Linked DNA regions of Homo sapiens: regions 1, 2, 3, 4, 5 and 6 are each linked to region 7. Evidence: promoter capture Hi-C in 16 types of primary human blood cells and fetal thymus (Javierre and others, 2016). All regions are on one chromosome and are shown on one strand. The core of a region is centred on a gene start or on the middle of the fragment in contact, and the rest is flanking DNA. Distances in the headings are between cores, read along the strand shown. Region 1 has its middle 25 kb from the start of CR2. Region 2 overlaps CR1 (complement C3b/C4b receptor 1 (Knops blood group)). Region 3 has its middle 59 kb from the start of CD55. Region 4 overlaps CR1 (complement C3b/C4b receptor 1 (Knops blood group)). Region 5 has its middle 3.1 kb from the start of CR2. Region 6 overlaps CR2 (complement C3d receptor 2). Region 7 holds the start of C4BPB (complement component 4 binding protein beta).

Region 1 (2,700 bases), core at 98-2,597, 340 kb before region 7:
GACAGAATATGCAAACTTATCCCTATTGGATTTATTTATTTTTGACAGTATAAACGCCAATGCCAGGATTAAAAATTATAAGTGTAATTATACTGACTTTGGAGAGTGAGGTTTAAATTTAACATGATTTCAAGCAGATACTTCCAACAAAATACCCCCTTGGTAACACCCTAGACTTTGTCATGTCCTAATATGGCACCACTTCCAAAATCTCTAATTCAGACATCCTGCTGTCTACATACAATCTCCACTGCATTCAGCTTACCTATTTCAGTGTCAAACTGCTTGACCTTCGTTTGACTTCATGAGAACTTTCTGTCGCCTTTCCCCTTATTCTAATCTATTTGCCCACTCTTTCTTCAGTTCCTTCCTTAATCAGTCAAAAGTCTATACCACAAGTTCAACAGCACTCCTGCCAGTAACAAACTCCTTTGCCTGCTTCCTTATGGCAACTGTTTAGAAAATCCCAAACCTCAATCATTGTTACTTTCTGCTTTCCTTACCTAAGCACTGAGATAGAGCCACATGGCAGGTTGCACTGGTGGATAAATTCAGGATAACTAATTTCAAATAGACTCAACCTTGTGTGGCAACCTTACCATTGTTTTCCTCTTTTTAATTCACTTTATCAATGATTACTTTGTATCTTCTTTATACTCCTCACCCTTCCAACCATAACTGACCCTTTTCTGCCTGTCTTCTCACCTCCTTCTTCACTGAGAAGCCGTCGGAGATCTAGTCTCCCAATTTCCTGCTAGCAACTCTAGGAACCTCCATCTGCATTCATCTTTTCTTTTTTCCATTTTCTCTCTTCTCTTATTGAAGGTCAGTTCTTTCACATGAGGTCTTGGATTCTACTCTTTCCTGATTTTTCAGAAACATTTAACTATCAAACAATTCCACTCTTGCCTGTATTTTCAACTGTGTTCTAACATTGGATCATTCCCCGTGACATTTAAAAGAGCTAAAAAAAATCTCAAAAGACTTTCTTCCCCCAACTTCTAACCCTTTCTCCTCACTTTCAGAGCTAAATTTCTTTTTCTTTCTTTCTTTCCTTCTTTCTCTCTTTCTTTCTTTCTTTCTTTCTTTCTTTCTTTCTTTCTTTCTTTCTTTCTTTCTTTCTTTCTTTTTCTTTTTTAACTTTTTGAGACGGAGTCTTGCTCTGTCACCCAGGCTGGAGTGCAGTGGCTTGATCTCAGTTCACTGAAACCTCCACCTCCTGGATTCAAGTGATTCCCCTGCCTCAGCCTCCCAAGTAGCTGAGATTACAGGCACGCACCACCACACCCGGCTAATTTTTTTGTATTTTAGTAGAGATGGGGTTTCACCATGTTGGCCAAGATGGTCTCAATCTCCTGACCTCGTGATCTCCCCACCTCAGCCTCCCAAAGTGCTGGGATTACAGGTGTGAGCAACTGTGCCCAGCCTCAGCCAAATTTCTTAATGTCTTGAAAGAGTTACAGATGGCCTGTCCTTTTCAACACCTTTTACTAATGTTCAACCTACTTTGATTTAGCCTCTGTCTCTCTCATTATGACTAACGATCACCTTCATATTGCCAAAGCCAATGAACATTTTTCAGTTCTTGGTGGAATTTGACATTAACCACTGTTTTCTTCTTGAAACAATTTGTTCTGCTGTCTTCCCCAGATATCATTATCTGCTGGTTATCTGCTTAGCTCTCTGGTCATTCTTCCTCTCTATATACATATATATCTTTTTTTCCAGTTTATCCTCCTCTGTCTGGTGATTAAATGTTGGAGTTTCTCGAGGCTGAATCCTGGGCTCTTTTCACATTCTATTATATCTCCACAGGCAAATGTATCTATTACGTCTATGACTTGAAAAATTCTAAATTGAGCTCACACCTGTCTTCTAAGCCTAAGACCCTGTATACCTTATTTTGCCTCTCCATGTGGATACTTCAGTATCAATATGTCAAACACCAAACTCAGTCCTCCCTGACAGAGCAGGAGCACCATCATCTTGGACAAACACTGCCACTTTAAGTTCCAGCTCTTTTTCTAGCCTCATGCATTTCAAGGAAATCACTTTTCTTCTAACAACAAGTGCCCAGAAAGAGCAGACAGTAAAATACAGATAAGACAGCTGGGGCACAGAGGGAGGTGGTGGGGAAGTCTCTTGGGTAACTGCCAAACTTCACCCTCATACAATGGGCCCCAGTAAAACAGTGGGCCTTAATAAGCACATTCCTTTCCATTTAAGTGCACTAAGGGAAGCTAAAAGCAGACTTGGGAGGAGGGTGGGTATGCCTGCAGCTGCAGGAAGATGTATGGGAACAGACACAAAGCTCTCCCTCCCAGATAAGTGCAACAAAGAAACACAGAAGGAGTACAAGCCTCTGATAAACTCTTCCACCCTGAATCCTTAAAAACTCTTAGTCTCTAAGAAAGTAGGCTCTAACCTAACTCAGCCAGAAGCCCCTCTCATGTTTGTTTTCTCTAAAATAAACCCGTCCTTAACTGTCAAGCCACCTTTCATGTATCTTTCCTCTTTCTTTAATTCTTACACTCCCTCCAAAGTTATTGGTTCCTGCCAATGTTTCTAATCTCATTGAATAGTACCATCATGCATCCAGTCACCTAATTTACAAATCTCAGGTTCATCCATGATATCTCATGCTTTTCATTCTCCAATATCTAATCCATCTTTGAGATCCATCTATTTTTTGTTCAAAAT
Region 2 (2,700 bases), core at 96-2,595, 430 kb before region 7:
GAGTGAGGTGGACTTGCAATCCAGTTTTGTCTGCAAGTTACTGTCTCAGAATGTTATCTGATGTGTCTAAGGCACATATTCTCTATAAAACATAGAGGCCGGGCACGGTGGCTCATGCCTATAATCCCAGCACTTTGGGAGGCCAAGGTGGGTGAATTGCTTGAGCTGAGGAGTTCGAGACCAGCCTGGGCAACATGGTGAGACTCTATCCCTACAAAAAATATATAAAAAACTTATCCAGGCATGGTGGCATGCACCTATATTCCCAGCTACTTGGGAGGCTCAGGCAGGAGACTTGCTTGAGCCAGAGAGGCGGAGGTTGAAGTAAGTCATGATGGCACCACAGCAGTTCAACGTGAGTGACAGATCAAGACAGTATCTCAAGCAAAACAATACAGACAAACATAGAACAACTGGTAACTACCTAATAACTTTGTTTTAAGGATTAAAATTCACATGTAGCCTGTATTATAGTGCCCGGCCAGAGGAATCACTCATTTTGTATCAACCATTATTATACTCAAAGGTAATTGATAGATCTGTTTATAAGAACCCCAAAGAAACATCATATCCCTTGCCCAGGTTGAGCTTTGCTTCGCAATTTCAGCACATGTGCATGTACACACACCTTCTGAATTTCATGTTCACTACCTAGAAAATTTGCTCCTCGACCCTGCTCAGCACACATCCCTCCCCCTGAACAAATACTAATCTCCTGATCCAACAGCAACGCATGTCACTGGCAGGGCCCTTCTAGGCCTCAGTCAGACTCACCCCTGGAGCAGCTTGGTAGCTCCGGCTCCCATTTGTTCAGGGCCTGGCACTTCACACGGCGGGGTCCTTTCATGACAAAGCCAGGCTGACACCTAAACTCCACAACTTCATTTAAGGAAAATAAGCTTCTGTTGTCAGATACCAATATTCCATTTTCCACATTTGGAGGCGTGCATTTGTTAGGTATAATGCACTGAGGGGCGGGGCCGCTCCAGATGCCCACTTGATCGTCATTGCTGGTGCAGTATATGGAGGGCTCACCCACAAGCTCAAACACCTTTCTCCCTCCGCTTCCAGGATTGCAGCGGTAGGTCACCACTGATCCATAGTGAAAATTCTCTCTGTTGGTGCTAATGAAATCTCCATTGGTGATGGTGGGGGGTAGCCCACAAGGAATTCCTGGAAAAAGGAAGAGCAGGATAAATAACAGTCAGTTTAAATAATGAATGACAGAAATCTCATGAGTCACTAAACTATAGCTATTTTTACATTCATTATTTGCTTTTAATCTTTGCTAACACATAGGTACATTTTTATAAAGTTGTAGCTTCAATGGGCATAATATGATGTGTCCTGCCTTTCTTACTGATATGATTTCCTATAGTATTTGCATGCATGTATTAACTCAATCCACATTCTTTTCATTTTAAATAGCTCTTTGATCATAGTGTTATAGTATTTATACAGTTTTCTCCTACTCTTTTCCGTTTGCTTTCTTAATTTCCATTTTTGTTATTAACCAAGGTTAGCTTTTTTAGAAAAATAAAATACAAAAACATTTGCTAAAAGATAAAGTATAAGGGATGAGAGAAAACACAAATATACACAGTAGGAAAAAGAATTTAAACATATTTTTATGTATATGAGAATATTTATAAAACTGTAGACTACAGGGGGTTAAATATTTTGAAAATCTAAATGATATAAATGGAAATACAAATTACCAAAATTCATTCAAAAATATACTTCCAAATGTAATTTCAAGGTTTCACAACATATAAAAGATATGAAGCTTACCAACTCATTTCATCAAATCTAAGTTTGATATCATAAGATGATATCTGTGTAAAAGTGATCATATATTAGTCCACAAAAACCCCTAAATACATTTTAAAGTATAGCAGTAGTACATAGTATACTGTGTTGCTATAAACTAGAACAAAATTTCTTCAACCCAAATCCCAAAACACTTGAAATTAAAACTGAGTGAATTTAATTGGATAAATTTAGAAATGAATGAATTAAAATTAAAAATAAAAATTTTTCAGGCTCTGCTTCTACTAATAGTAATCTCAACAGTTCAAATAAAATATTGCTCCAACCATCCACCCTCAAGAAAGGCTAGAAATACTGGAGAATTAAAAATATTTATCTGTTAAAGCATCAGAAAGCTAACAAACTAGTGAAGCATTCCTGGGCCATGATCTAGGAGAAGATGAGAATCCAGTTGAGAGCTGGGTATTTGGGCTTGGCAACTGGGCTGCTTATTGTTTGGGAATGGGCAGCTGAATCAGGACGGGGCAACTGAGAGGCTGAACAGACTTTTGATTTTCTCATGAAGTTAAGGGACAACAATGGAAGTCCAGGGCCTGCCCCAAATGGAAGGCCTGGTAATACCTTCTGATGTGTTCTGAGGCCACAAGAACTAGGCCCTGGTAATCAGGGTTAACTGAAAATAAATTTGCTGTCTCAGAGACTGGAACTAGTACTTCAAGTACTGGTACTGTGGGTGGCCCTGGAAAATCACAGTTCCTGAGACTGAATTAGAGTGGTCCTAGATTGCTAATGTCCCCAGATGCCTGCAGAAACAATGACAAAAATTCCATCTGGAAGAAGATGGGTTATCTAAGGCCTTGAAATTATTTCTACAGACACAGTTTTCAAATAGAATTCCTGATACACAATCAAAGATAACCAGATATTTGG
Region 3 (2,847 bases), core at 153-2,652, 290 kb before region 7:
CAATATATACTAAATATTGGAACAGTACCTAGAAACTTGCTATGCCCTCAGTAGATTTTCATTGAAAAAACAAATGAGCAAAAAAGGGAGGAAATTGAAATAATTATAAAATAACAAATTATTCTTTTTTGTTTTTTTCTTTTTTGAGGTGGAGCCTCTCTCTGTCACCTAAGCTGGAGTGCAGTGGTGTGATCTCGGCTCACTGCAACCTCCGCCTCCCAAGTTCAAGTGATTCTCCTGCCTCAGCCTCCCAAGTAGCAGGGATTACAGGCATGCACCGTCATGCCTGGCTAGTTTTTGTATTTTTAGTAGAGACGAGGTTTAGCATATTGGCCGGGCTGGTCTTGAACTCCTGACCTCAAGTGATCTGCCTGCCTCAGCCTCCCAAAGTACTGTGATTATAGGCACAAATTATTCTTATAAATGAAAAAACGGATTCAAAAGCAATTTTTCTAAGAAAAATAAATTACCAAAACTTACGTAAGAAGTGAAAAAAAATGTGTAACCAGACCATTTATTTTTATTTATTTACTTATTTTTTTTATTTTTTTAAGAGATGGAGTCCCACTCCATCACCCAGAGCTGGAGTACAGTGGCGTGATCTCGGCTCACTGCAAGCTCCATCTCCCCGGTTCAAGCAATTCTCCTGCCTCAGCCTCCTGAGTAGCTGGGACTACAGGCACACCACCATTCCCGGCTAATTTTTTGTATTTTAGTAGAGACAGGGTTTCACCGTGTTGCCCAGGTTGGTCTCGAACTCCTGAGCTTAGGCAATCCACCTGCCTCAACCTTCCAAAGTATTTATTTGTTTTTTAAACTTTTATTTTAGGTTCGGGGTACATGTGCAGGTTTGTCATATAGGTAAATTCATGTCATGGGGGTTTGTTGTACAGGTTATTTTGTCACCCACGTAGTAAGCATAGTACCCAAGTTATTTTTAACAGATCAGTTATTGGTAAAGAAGATCAAAGTGTCAAGTTGTCCTTATTCCTGTTCCTGGAAAAGAAGAATCCTTAGTGGAAATATGTCAACTCTTTTCAAATAAGATATATTTAATTTCAATTTGTCATTATTTTGAATGAGTGAAAACATTTAAGCAAATTAAATCAATAGAATAACCTGTATTGAACACAGAGCCATATAATAATGCCAATGACCTGGAATTTGTTAACTATGAATAATATTTTGAGATGTCCTCCTTTAAATTCACGATATAATTGAAGTAATGTCACATGAACTTAAGGAAGAAAAGTTCTGAATGAGCTAATTGAGCTTCCTTTTTCCTTGGTGCAGGAATAAGATTCCTGTGTAATAAAATAATGGCTTGTAAAAATTTTAAAACTCGATTTGCCTCACTCTTAAAATTGTTTTAACGTGGATATTTATCCAATATGCATATTAACTATCTTTTTAATGATAATTTAAATCATAACACTTCTTTTGCTCATACCTGCTTGTTTCTAACTAGTTTGATTTGATATTATGGTTAGAGTGAGATTTATATGTGACTAGTAAATATGTAGTACTTTGATACTTAGTGAATAAGGTGTATTAATATTGAAAATAAACATCCAACAAATTCTGAATATGTTTCTTAATGTTCCTCTTTTTACTATTATTAATATGAATCTTCTGAATCTCTGAGAAAATAAGATTATATCAATGTGCTACAGCCTGGAACATCACCTGATATAGTAGAAAAGGTCGCCGGGTGCGGTGGCTCATGCCTGTTGAGGCAGGCAGATCACGAGGTCAGGAGTTTAAGACTAGCCTGACCAATATGGTGAAACCACGTCTCTACTAAAAACACAGAAAAAAAAAAAAAATTAGCAAGGCTTGGTGGCATGTGCTTGTAGTCCCAGCTGCTTGGGAGGCTGAGGCAGGAGAATCACTTGAACCCAGGGGGCGGAGGTTGCAGTAAGCTGAGATCACACCACTGCACTTCAGCCTGGGTGACAGAGTGAGACTCCATCTCAAAAAAAAAAAAAAAAAAAAAAAAGTGCAGTAAAAGTCTTAACTGAGAAACATCAGGAAATGCCAGAAAACTCTTAAGTATCCTTTCATATTGAGGAAAAAAATACTGAAAAAGAAAATGGATGCAAATGGCACTTAAATGTTGTATCTTTAAAAGTGGGAACATTCATAGATTCACCAAAACAGGACTAAAATTTTGTAAAACTCATGCTGAAATAAAGAATAGTTATAATCATCAAGAGACATAATTAAAAGCACATATTAAATAAGTTCTACCTTTAAATATTTTAAAGTTTCTGAAACAATCTTTTATCAATGTATTGATGAAATGAATTTTAAAACTGAGAATAAACCATCATAATTTAAACACTATGATTAGTTAAAAATACTAAAGCAATTTCAGAGTAAAATGCTTAATATCACTTCAAAAAATAATAATGATATGTTTTTCATTGTTATCTAGGGTTGTGGACCACTTGTCACAACACATATTCTATTAAAATGAGAAAATAACTTTTATGAAAACTTACAAAGCAAGGGATTATTGTTTTAATCAATTATCAATTATGGCAGCACTATTAATTTAACAAACCATACCATAATCTATTATTTCTTCATCATATATTAAAATCTCTTATAGAACTGAATCTATTTCCAAATTTTATTTGACATAAATATATATTTTATTTACTTACTTTAAATGTAAAATTCCTTGTAATTTAATGATTTGGTAGTGCTAGAATTAATGTAATTAATGTAACATCTGAATTAAAGCAAAATCTATACTTATTTATTGATAAAAATAGTATTGATAGCTGTGCTTGGTGGCTTATGCCTGTAATCAAGCACTTTGGGAGGACGAGGTGGGAGGAT
Region 4 (2,844 bases), core at 273-2,772, 480 kb before region 7:
TATGAAAAATAAGAGAAAGCTTGAGTAGTCCAGTTAATGAGCTTTCATTCATGATAGTAGAACAGACACTTGTCATACTGCTTCAAGGAGCACTGGATTTCTTAGACAGCAAGAATCTCTATATAAGTTATGTTCTTCCAAAATTTTACTCTAAAAATCACTGTAAGATGTCCAAGTATATTTCTAACAACATAAACATTTTAGTAAAATTTCATGATTTTCTAAAGAAACACGTTTTCCAATCATTAGAATCAAGAATTGAAGCAAAGTTCTATCTTCCATTGGGGAAATTATACATGGGTAGACTAGGAGAAATCAGTAGTCTACTGATTATTGAACATATGAGGCTCATTTTAAAAAAATGACTTATTATTTATGAATCTCTCAGCATAAATTATTTAGGTACATGTTTTGAGAATTTAAGGAGTCTCAAACTGCTCACCCTGTCTAATGTTGCTCCCCATTTTTGCCTCATTCCTCAGTGCTTTGCTCTATTGTCTCATAGCATTGAATTTATTTTTTTTCTTGTCCCTCTCCCCACCTAAGTAGAAACAACATGGGGACAGGGAATTCATCCATCTTGTTCATTGATATAACTCCAGTGGCTAGATGAACATCAGGCACAAAGTATGTGATCAATAAATATTGATTAAATAAAGCCATGTTCAATATTTGTGTATTATCATATATATATAAATTGTAGACTGACTGCACTTTGATGGGAGAACAAAATGAAAAAGAAAGAAGGGAGGAAGGAAAGAAGAAAGGGGAGAAGGAGAGAAGAAGGGAAGAAAGAACTGAAGGATGGAAGGAAGAGAAAAAAGAAAGAAAAAACTAGAGAAAGAAAGAAAATTGTTAAAGCTTCACATTATCTAATCTCTCCTGACCTAGGAGCACAAGACCAAAGGATTTATCGCACTAGAACAGAGAATGCAGAAGGACAGAGACAGATCAGATGGTTGCAAAGACAGGTGATGTACATATTGATTCACAACCAAACATTATTAAAATAAACTATTTTTAAATCGATAATTAAGACTAGAATATTGAAGAATCACATTGAGGGAGGCCATAGGACAAATAGTGAACAGATGAAGGGGAGAGATTGGCCTGAAATGTTGCTCCTATTACTCACGTTCACACACTGGAACACTGCTATTCCAAAGGCTTTCCATTCCAGCCAAGACACAATAACTAGCAGAGCTGCCTTTTAATTGAAATCTAAAGAAGAAAATAGGAGTGAATAGTGAGCTGTTTCAGCCAAGAGGACACTTAGTTCACAATCTAAGGCCCAGCCCCAATTTCAGGATTTTGAGGATCTGAGGCCAGCAGATGGCAGAGTTGCACAGGCTACCTTATTCTGGAAAAATCACAGCCTCCAGAAGGGAACAATATAGAATGGCAAAATGTAGTAGCTTGGTCACATGATAGTCCTGCTTGAATTGAAAAAGGTGGTCATGACATAGGCGCCATCCCCTTGACCCAGGACCCAGGCTTGGAGTTTCACTGATTACTCCATGATAACCTGATAAATCACTCATTGTTGTTATTAGAAACCCAGTCTTCTAATGTAATGCCTTCCTAACTCTGACCCTGGAACAGCAAGTAAAACAGCTCCCAGTTTGGAGTGGAAAAGTGGGAAATAGCTGGCGAGAGAACAGAGATTGTCCTTTCATCTCCACATCTGTGATGGCGTGAAGAAGGCTCAAAAGGGCAGTTTGGGCTGCTGAAGAGTAAGCATGAATATTCTAGGGGAAAAAGGAAAGAAGAGAGGACATGATTTTTGTATGCAATTGTCGAAAATTCTCAGTCTTTTGGACCCTGATGCCCTCCTAACTCTTACTGGGTGCTGGCATTTGGAGGCTGCCAAGATTCTGTGTTACATTATGGGATCAGGTGCTTTGTTGCCCATGCCGGTCAGCTCCTGTGTAGAGATGTGCACGCTGTGAAGAGCACTAGATGGACATAAACAAGGTAATGACCTTGCTGGGAATATTAACAGCAGCCATCACGACCCCAGCTCAGAGCCCAGAGCCCATGACTAGCCAGAAGATATATGACTGAATTTTTAAAAAAATGCTGATTTTTACATTTTCAGTCCTATTACAAATTTCACTGTTGATGGTTTAAAGAATTTACTGAAATGATTCTTAAAGGATCCTAGCTTTTAATAATAAGCTTTTCATTACTTGCAATTTTTCCTGGGACTCTCTAAATTACTCATATTCCCTTTTGCTTGTAAAATATGATTTTTTTCCTGAGATGGAGTTTCACTCATTGTTCACGCTGGAGTGCAATGGTGCCATCTCGGCTCACTGCAAACTCCACCTCCCAGGTTCAAGTGATTCTGGTGCCTCAGCCTCCGGAGTAGCTGGGATTACAGGCACATGCCACCAAACCCAGCTAACTTTTGTATTTTTAGTAGAGACAGGGTTTCACCATGTTGTCCAGGCTGGTCTCCAACTCCTGACCTCAGGTGATCTGCCTGCCTCAACCTCCCAAAGGTGCTGGGATTACACACGTGAGCCACCGTGCCTGGCTGATATTTTTTGCTTAATGTGTTACCTATATATTCATAACCACTAGTTATACTTGCCTTTGAACTTGCCAGTTAATATATGTTCCAGTTTCCTCTTCATATCTCATGTTATTAGTTCTATATGTTTCTTTCCTTTCTTCCTAGGTATACTTTCGAAAGTTCATCTCTCTGAAGGTGTGTGTGTGTGTGTGTGTCTTTCTTTTAAGCCACACCAAATCTCCCCTTTTTAGACTGATTCCCAACCCCAATTTCAATGTCCAGCAGGTCAGGCAAGCTCATACTCACCCTTCATCACAAACAAAATC
Region 5 (2,700 bases), core at 10-2,509, 360 kb before region 7:
CATTTTTTCATCAAATTTTTACCCACAAATTTTAGCGTCTATTGATGATCCTTTCTTGAATCAATTTTTACTATGATGGTTGTCAAAGGGTGTTTTTTCCTAATTTAATAATTACTTCTATATTCATCTGTTGGCATTTTACTGTAAATAAAAGTTTTCCCTTCTCTATTTATTTATTCATTTATCTATATCAGCATAAACTATATCAATATGAATTTTATTTATTTACTCAATGGGTCATAATTCATGGCTACCATTATTTATTTTGATGCTTAAATTCTCCCTGATCGGGCCAGTGGGAGCCCTCAAAATAGTTCCTATGTCATTTTGACTTGTTCTTATTGTTCTTTGAGCACTTCCTTACTTTCTGGCACACACACAAAAAAAAATGCTCCAGACTCACCTCTAGACCTGACACTGGAATTTGCTGTTTCTCCAAGGAATGCTGGTTCTTTCTGGCAGAGAATGGCATTTAGATGCCAGAATTGGATGCTAAGTGTGTTCATTTTTATTGGAGTATCATTGTTTCCGCACCCTCTCAGCAGACAGAGCAAGGATATGTATTATATATATATATGTATATCCATTCCCATATCTATATTTATATATGTCATGAATTCACAGTGATTCTTCCAATTTCAGTCCGTTAGCATAGAGTTCATTCTGTCCTTCCCTCTTTCTGCATGTGTAACTCCCTTCTTCAACAGTGAGACACCTAGATCCACAATATATTTACTTATTTGCTTAATCCTAGAATACACAGAAAGAAGTTTAAAATTGCTATTTCTATACTATGATGGAAATCAAATCTACTCGTTTTTAAAGTTTTATTTTGTTTATAGCCCGAAAATATAAAAACAGCATTGTTGTGTTCCAAAGTTACTCAGATTATTCCCCCTCTTCAGTGTGATTGTTATTCATTCAAAATACTGTTAATTTGTTTCTCTTTGTATTCTATTTTAGTTTCCCCTCAATCTTTTTGATTTTTTTTTGCTTAAATAAAACATTAACGTAGTCCCAAATGTCAGATTGATATAAAAAGACACAATAAAAGGGAAATGTCACTTCTCTCCATCACCTCTATCCTCTCCACCATAGGTACTCAATTTCAGTAGTTTCTGGTTTGTCCTTAGTTTTGCTCAAATGAGCTGCTACACATTTGTCTTCTTAGTTCTCCTTTTTTATTACATTTTAAAAGCATGCTATAGGTATTCTTTTGCACATTTCTTTTTTAACTTAACAAATATGCTGGAATCCACTATTTCCTACAAATTCAAATATTCCTCATTCATTTTTACAGTTGCATGCAATACTTCACTGTGTGGATATGCCATAGTTTATTCAACCATCTCCCTATGTATGGACAGTTTGGTTGTTTTTAATGCTCTAAAGAGTAACTTTGTGAATATTTATTTTTCTGCTGTTAGAAGCATGTCTTCAGTTCAAATTCCTAGAAGTGGGATTGCTGGGTCAAATGGTAAACACATATGTAGGTTTGTTAGATATTGCCAAATTTCCTTAATAAGAGTTGTACCACATATATTCCTACAAAACTGTGTGAGAGCACCTCATTAATCTAATGTGCTGTCATCATGGTTTTAAATTTTAGTCAGTCTAATAAATGAGACATTTTATCTCAGTGTAGCTTTAATTTGCATTCCCTATGAGTAACGCTGAACATTTATAAAATATATTTTTATCATGTATATTTGCCTTTTCCTCTCTCAATGTTTGAGACTTATTTATATATATTAGGATTGTTATTCTGGATGTGTTTTGCAAATGTTTCCTCCCAGTTTGTCAGTTGTCTTTTGACTTTGTTTATGGCATCGTTTTGCCTTGTAAGCATTGTCTGTTTTAATGCAGTCAAGTTGATAAATCTTTTCTTTTATTGCATCTGGATTAGGAGCCATGGTTTTAAAAACCATTCTCCAGGTTACACAATAATTCATCCATGTTTTCTTCTTGCACGTGTATTGTTTCATTTATTTTACAGTTAGATTCATGATTCTTTTCATGCTTATTCTTGTCTGCCCTCATAAATTTCCCAAATATATTTTTATTAATAAACACTTCTCAGCAACACAAAAACTCAACTCCTCTGTAGATGAGTGTGTTGGTGTCTAGTATCTTGCAGTGATCCTGTTTACATGTTTGTCAGGAAAAAAGAAATCACTGCCTTCTGCTCCAAACCCTCCAATAATTTCCTATCTCATTCAAAGTAGAAGGCAATGTCATAACTATGATCCATTCAGTCCAATGTGATCTGCTTTCCTTTAACTTCTCTGAGTTCATCTTTGACCCTTTTCTCCTTCTTTTCTCCCTCTGGCCACAATGGCCTTTGCTGCTCTAGTATTCTTTGCACTCTGACTGGGGTCCTTTGCCCTCGGAGGGTCTTGTTTGCTCTGTCCAGATTGTTTTTCTCCTGAATAGCCCCAGTGGCCAGCTCCCTCATTTCATTCTAGTCTTTACTCGAAGATACCTTCTCAGTGAGATCTTTCCTAGATATCCTCTTACACTTTTACCTCCCTTTCCATTCATATCCCCTTCTTTGGTCTATTTTTCTTCTCTTACTACTTAGCTCCATTGAACACATTATATATTTTACAATGACCTCATTTGTGTTTGTCTCTCTTACAATGTAAGATCCATGAAGGAAATATTTTGTTTTTTTGTCTGTCTGTTTCTCTATGTTCGAGC
Region 6 (2,700 bases), core at 74-2,573, 380 kb before region 7:
GGACAAAAACAAAACATAACTGCTTAAGTAAACAACCACAGAAAGAAACTGAGCCAAAGAAATTGATATTCATGCTATAATTCCACTCTGGCGTCAGCTGTATGATACAGAACATATGTTGCAGACCAGCTTTGGGTAATTTTAGATCACAGTTTCCCAATCTTTTGTTGTTGTTGTTGTTGTTGTTTTCTGCACAGAGGCTGCTGCAGATGTTGTTCACTTTCCACTGGGTTCTGCAACTCCTCTCCTGCCTCTTCCCTTCATAAGGAATCATCTTGTATGTTTTTTATGGGAGATTCTGATATATCCCTAGGAATGAGGGCTTGAATGACTTCTCTTTTAAGAAGTCACTATTAAGACAAACAAGCATTTTTCTCCTCATTTTTTCCCCTATAGAAATGAGAAACTTAGTGATTCCTAACATTTTTTCCAAGCATATTCCCACAAAATAAAACAATGGTGGGGGGCTAGTGATAAGAATGCCCTCTACAAAATTTATATTGATTAGATGTAGTAGATTTGAGGGAAGTATAAACTGGACAAGGCCCTACCTAAAGCCCACAACCCCTTCTTCTAATTTTTCAGAAACGAATCAGAAGCACCTTTTCTGAGTACCGGAACACTCACCCTTTTCACAGACTGGTGCAGATGGCTCCCATGTGCCTTGGGCATTGCATCGGATTTGCTTGCTGCCCTTCAAGGTGAAGCCAAACATGCAAGCAAATATCACAGTGTCGTTATAGGTATATCGATCTTTCTGCCCAGATACCATTCGGCCTCTTAGGATCTGGGGATGTGGACACTGAACCGCAGAAGTAGAAAGTTCACAGCGTGGGGCAGGGCCACTCCAGGTCCCAGTCTTCTGACTATCAACTGTACAACGGAGAGTGCTCTCTCCAATAAGGATGAAGTTCACTCCTTCCTCTGGGTCCGGGTCACAAGTGTAAGTGACTATGCTTCCATATGAGACATTTGCTAGTGAGTTGCCTATATGTCTTCCATTGAGAATAGGGGGAGGTGATGGGCAAAAAATTTCTAGGGGAATTGCAGAAAGAAATGACAAGATCATAGGTGTATTGAAAACAAAGAATGCCCCAGATGCTGCTTGATACCACTATCCTAGGACAGTGATATCCGAGTCTATAATGAATCAGTCAAGGCAGCTAAAGCAACATAATTTAGAAGATTGATTCTCAAGCTTCATTCCTGAGTATATGTACTCTGCTGATCCTTTGATTTCTTTTACCAAATACACTATTTTCTTTATGCATATGGTCTACCTACTTAGAAGGTCTGCATAGCTTTCAGAGGAGGGAAAGCCTAGGAACCCCATTTTACTTGAGGAAACAAAAAATAAGGATGCTTTGGTGAAGCACATATCCTTAAAGATCTCTAGGAGTTCTGTGTTCAGTAAGAGTCTGTAAGGTAATGACTGAACCAAAAGCTTTTAGTTAAGCTGAGAATGCAGTGCTGTCAGACCATAGTTGCCTAGCCTACCTTCACATACTGGCATTTTGGTCCAAGCAACTCCCTGTCCAGCAATTACACACCGACTAGAAGGTGGGCCTTGCAGTCGATACCTGGAGACAGAAGGTTGTCATTCAGAACTATTAGGCAGTTTGTGCTGAAGAACAGCAGCCTCTACTTACAATTCAAGACAAGTTCATTTCAATCAGTGTGCATCTGTTCCTTTTATCAGCATTACCTCTCACAACCCTACCCCAGACTGCCCAGAGATCCTCACAGAGGAGACTTCTGCAGGTTTCACAGTCCACACCACGCACACACAAGACAAATGAATTAAATCTCATAAATAATCCTGACACTCACCCTTCATCACAGAAAAAGTTTGCAGTTACACCAACCCGGAGAATTGGAGGCTCCTTTACCTTCCCATTGGGAAATCGTCCTAGAGATTTACAGCGTGCCTCTAAAAAACAAACCAAAGATGAGAAATGCATGGCAAATAACAGAACAGCCCAGATTCTTAAAATAGATTGTAAATTTAGGGTACCTTCACATGTGGGGGGGACAGCACTCCATTTTCCCGAAGACAAACAGTTAATGATCTTTTCTCCAACAAGCAAGTAACCAGATTCACAGCTGTAAGTCACAGACAATCCTGGAGCAATGGAGCCAACATTCTCACTTGTGTGATGTCCATTGTGGATCATAGGAAGTGCTGGACACTCGAGAGGGAAAACTTTACACACACATACCAGGAAAAAAAAGCCGTCAGATGATGCATCCTTCACAATCTAGAATCAAGGGGGTCCAATCTTTTGGCTTCCCTGGGCAACATTGGAAGAAGAAAAATTGTCTTGGGCCACACATAATATACGCTAACACTAATGATAGCTGATAAGCTAAAAAAATTGCAAAAAAAAAATCTCATAATGGTTTAAGAAAGTTTATGAATTTCTGTTGGGCCACATTCAAAGCCATCCTGGGCCACATGCTGTCCACGGGTAGCGAGTTGGACAAGCTTGATCGAGATGCTGACTTAGGATATGGATTTAAATAAATGACACATGATCTATGGTAGCCAGTTGGTATTAACTTTCAACCTAGTCTTTTAAAGATCAAACAGGTGTGGTTTAAGTGTATCCATTTTATGCCACAAATAGCCATAAATAGTACCTTATTTTTCATTTTTAGTTACACTATATGAATTACATTTGCCTTGTGAAAAATTTCAAT
Region 7 (2,700 bases), core at 57-2,556:
CCAAGTAGCCGGGACTACAGGCACCCGCCACCACGCCCAGCTAATTTTTTGTATTTTCAGCAGAGACGGGGTTTCACTGTCTTAGCCAGGATGGTCTCGATCTCTTGACCTCGTGATCCGCCCACCTCGGCCTCTCAAAGTGCCGGGATTACAGGCTTGAGCCGCTGCGCCCGGCCGGAATTCCGAAGTTTTATTTTCAAAAGTATAACAGGAATTTTACTCAAATTCAACCACAAGTTGTCCACTTCTAAACAAATAGTCCCCTACACAAATAGCGATCCTGGAGTTTATAACAAGTAAGACCTCCCAGGATTTTGAAATTGGTACTCTTTTTGCTCCCAGAACAGAAAGGGAAAGTAAAAAAACAGTAACCACCCACTTCAGAGATCAGGGTTATCATTAAATGTACACTAAGCTCCTATTGAGTGCAGAGCATTAGGCCAATTTGAGATTTTTCAATAGAAGAATAAAGATATTATAAATGTAAACTTCCTTAAAGCCCTAGACAGAGTTCCTCAAAACACCGCAAAAGGACACCAAATGCCTGTAAGCTGAGTTGAAGGAAAGCATACGTACCATCTGAAGCAGAAACTCGCCACGCAACCATAAGACAGCACGCACACCAAAAAAACATCTGGTGATCAAAGTCCTCTCCCCAGGCTGGAATTCACCCAGCTCAGACACCTGGTTTGAAAAAAAATAGATCTTCTAACACTGCTTAAGACCAACCTAACCACCTCCTCTCTAGAGAAGAGGTTATATTGATTTACCCTCCCTGGAGAAAATGAAAAGAAAAAATCTTACGACAGGAAATCAGAACAGCTGTAAGGAAGCTGGTATAGGGAGGAACTGCAAAAATACAAAGGGATGGTAAAAGAGTTGCCAGGTTTAAAACTCAGTTTCAGAAATTTCCTGGTTTCTGGGAATGCAAATCCAGTTGACCAGTCTTTTTGAAACGCAGGCTTATCCTTCCCCAACAAACATGGGCCAAATGGTCTTGCCATGACCTTGACTTCTGTCAATAGTTGCCAATGTTTACAGTCCAACTTCTGTAACTCTGGCCAGCACTGGGGAAAGAGAACGGGCTGTCAATCCCTGGTTCTTGCCCAGGTAGAACACAATTTTGAATGCTACCTCATCCTCCTTTCCTGAATACCAGATATCCTAAGGCTGTAAGCAGCACTGAAGACGAAAGCTCAAGGAAGTAAACTAACCTTACCTGTCTCTGTCCCTCCAGAGTTAGGGCTTCCCAGCAAGGAACTGGTCTTAACTGACTCCAAAGCTGAGAGCTCCAAAGTCCTGCAGTGACACATTGTTCTCGCTTGCCAGGCCTGTACCCAGGCTTCCTACTTTGTGGCTCTTCCAGGGACAGGATTTGGCCTGAGTCCAGAGTTAACCAAATGAGTAAAGAGAGAGGTGAGGAGAATGCTTTGGTCTCAGGAATTAAGGCATGTAAAATTGTTTTGAGGGATCCCATATCATCTTGCTTGTGACTACTATAACCCTTGGTTGGTTCTCTGTGCTGTAATTATGAAACTGGGGAAAAATTCCTACAAAATTTCAGGTTTTAATAGAATAATAAAGCATTAAGGACACAGTAAGGTTGCAAATGTTCTTCTCTTCTCCATCCATTACTACTGTTTGTGATGATTAATCTATGTCTTTCTCCTGAAAGGAATCAGGATATGCCACCCCCAAATATTTGGCGTTAAGATTCTTTTAAGCTGAAGATATTTGAGATTCAGTGATATGGAAAGGAACAGAGATTTTGGGGGCTTTCCTTATCTGACTAAAGGCAGCAACCTTGGAGATAAGGTTGCCATAAATTCCTTTTCAGGGTAGGTCTATCCTGGAGGGGAGAGCATGAGTAAAACATATTTCAAATTCCTTCTCCAGAGAAATTTCATGGCCTTGAAGGAGACAGAAAGAACACTCGTACTTATATACACAAACATTATCACAAAACTTTCTAATTTCCTACTTTTCCCCTGAAAACCCACTTGCCTTTCCAAAAAATAATCTGTTTTCTTTTTTGTTTGAGATGGTGTCTTGGCATGATCTTGGCTCACTGCAACCTCCACCTGCCAGGTTCAGGCCATTCTTGTGCCTCAGTCTCCCGAGTAGCTGAGATTACAGGCATGCGCTACCACGCCTGGCTAATTTTTGTATTTTTAGTAGAGATGGGGTTTCACCATGTTGGCCAAACTGGTCTTGAACTCCTGACCTCAAATGATCCACCCGCCTTGGCCTCCCAAAGTGCTGGGATTATAGGCATGAGCCACCGCACCCGGCCAATAATCTGTTTTCTTGTAAGTGCCTTTCTTCTCCCCACCTTCACCTATTAAGATGATGTATAAGCCCCAATTCTAACCAACTTTTTGAATTACTTATCACTGAGTTTTCCCACATGTACTCAAGTTACATGTATAAATAGAATTTTCTCTCCTGTTAATCTGTCTTAGTCTAATTTGCAGGTCCCAGCCACTGAATACAATATGGTAGAGGAAAGGTGTTTTTTTCCTCCCCTTTATTCCCACAGGAAACTGCTAACTCCAGGACAGGGTTTGTGTCTGATTTGTATTTGTATTCCCTTCCACGGTGCTTCATATTGCAAAGCAGTTGTCTGTTAAATGAATGAAAGTAATGCAGAAATAAATGAAAAAAACTGTCATCCAGAAACTCTACCACAGCCCCCAAAAT

The links. Contacts are between HindIII fragments. The CHiCAGO score rates a contact against its expected background, and 5 or more counts as called.
Region 1: a fragment that was not itself captured here is called in contact with the fragment with the promoter of C4BPB in region 7 in 8 of 17 cell types (naive CD8 T cells, non-activated CD4 T cells, naive CD4 T cells and 5 more); the score reaches 8.7 in naive CD8 T cells.
Region 2: a fragment that was not itself captured here is called in contact with the fragment with the promoter of C4BPB in region 7 in 6 of 17 cell types (naive CD4 T cells, naive CD8 T cells, total B cells and 3 more); the score reaches 9.4 in naive CD4 T cells.
Region 3: a contact is called between a fragment that was not itself captured here and the fragment with the promoter of C4BPB in region 7, in 9 of 17 cell types (monocytes, naive CD8 T cells, naive B cells and 6 more). The highest score is 10.3, in monocytes.
Region 4: a contact is called between a fragment that was not itself captured here and the fragment with the promoter of C4BPB in region 7, in 4 of 17 cell types (erythroblasts, M2 macrophages, megakaryocytes and 1 more). The highest score is 12.2, in erythroblasts.
Region 5: a fragment that was not itself captured here is called in contact with the fragment with the promoter of C4BPB in region 7 in 15 of 17 cell types (total CD4 T cells, naive CD8 T cells, M2 macrophages and 12 more); the score reaches 13.3 in total CD4 T cells.
Region 6: a fragment that was not itself captured here is called in contact with the fragment with the promoter of C4BPB in region 7 in 12 of 17 cell types (total B cells, naive CD4 T cells, naive B cells and 9 more); the score reaches 13.5 in total B cells.

Annotation. Positions count from the first base shown.
Region 1 is chr1:207,427,827-207,430,526 of GRCh38, reverse strand. No RefSeq gene overlaps it. Among named protein-coding and RNA genes, the nearest start is that of CR2, 25 kb to the left of the region's middle. The HindIII fragment of the contact is 3,250 bases long and covers 1-2,700 here.
Region 2 is chr1:207,522,084-207,524,783 of GRCh38, reverse strand. It overlaps CR1 (complement C3b/C4b receptor 1 (Knops blood group)), which reads right to left. Exons shown (of 47, transcript NM_000651.6): 5 at 775-1,173. Among named protein-coding and RNA genes, the nearest start is that of CR1, 27 kb to the right of the region's middle. The HindIII fragment of the contact is 887 bases long and covers 902-1,788 here.
Region 3 is chr1:207,379,680-207,382,526 of GRCh38, reverse strand. No RefSeq gene overlaps it. Among named protein-coding and RNA genes, the nearest start is that of CD55, 59 kb to the right of the region's middle. The HindIII fragment of the contact is 9,153 bases long and covers 1-2,847 here.
Region 4 is chr1:207,564,215-207,567,058 of GRCh38, reverse strand. It overlaps CR1 (complement C3b/C4b receptor 1 (Knops blood group)), which reads right to left. Exons shown (of 47, transcript NM_000651.6): 23 at 2,825-2,844; 24 at 1,136-1,221. Among named protein-coding and RNA genes, the nearest start is that of CR1, 69 kb to the right of the region's middle. The HindIII fragment of the contact is 1,317 bases long and covers 864-2,180 here.
Region 5 is chr1:207,449,878-207,452,577 of GRCh38, reverse strand. No RefSeq gene overlaps it. Among named protein-coding and RNA genes, the nearest start is that of CR2, 3.1 kb to the left of the region's middle. The HindIII fragment of the contact is 3,516 bases long and covers 1-2,700 here.
Region 6 is chr1:207,468,030-207,470,729 of GRCh38, reverse strand. It overlaps CR2 (complement C3d receptor 2), which reads right to left. Exons shown (of 20, transcript NM_001006658.3): 3 at 2,015-2,203; 4 at 1,831-1,930; 5 at 1,498-1,580; 6 at 628-1,035. Among named protein-coding and RNA genes, the nearest start is that of CR2, 15 kb to the right of the region's middle. RefSeq lists an enhancer at 254-1,453. The HindIII fragment of the contact is 246 bases long and covers 1,201-1,446 here.
Region 7 is chr1:207,087,466-207,090,165 of GRCh38, reverse strand. It overlaps C4BPB (complement component 4 binding protein beta), which reads right to left and starts at 1,306. Exons shown (of 7, transcript NM_001017365.3): 1 at 1,220-1,306; 2 at 577-684. The coding sequence starts at 634. The HindIII fragment of the contact is 12,500 bases long and covers 1-2,700 here.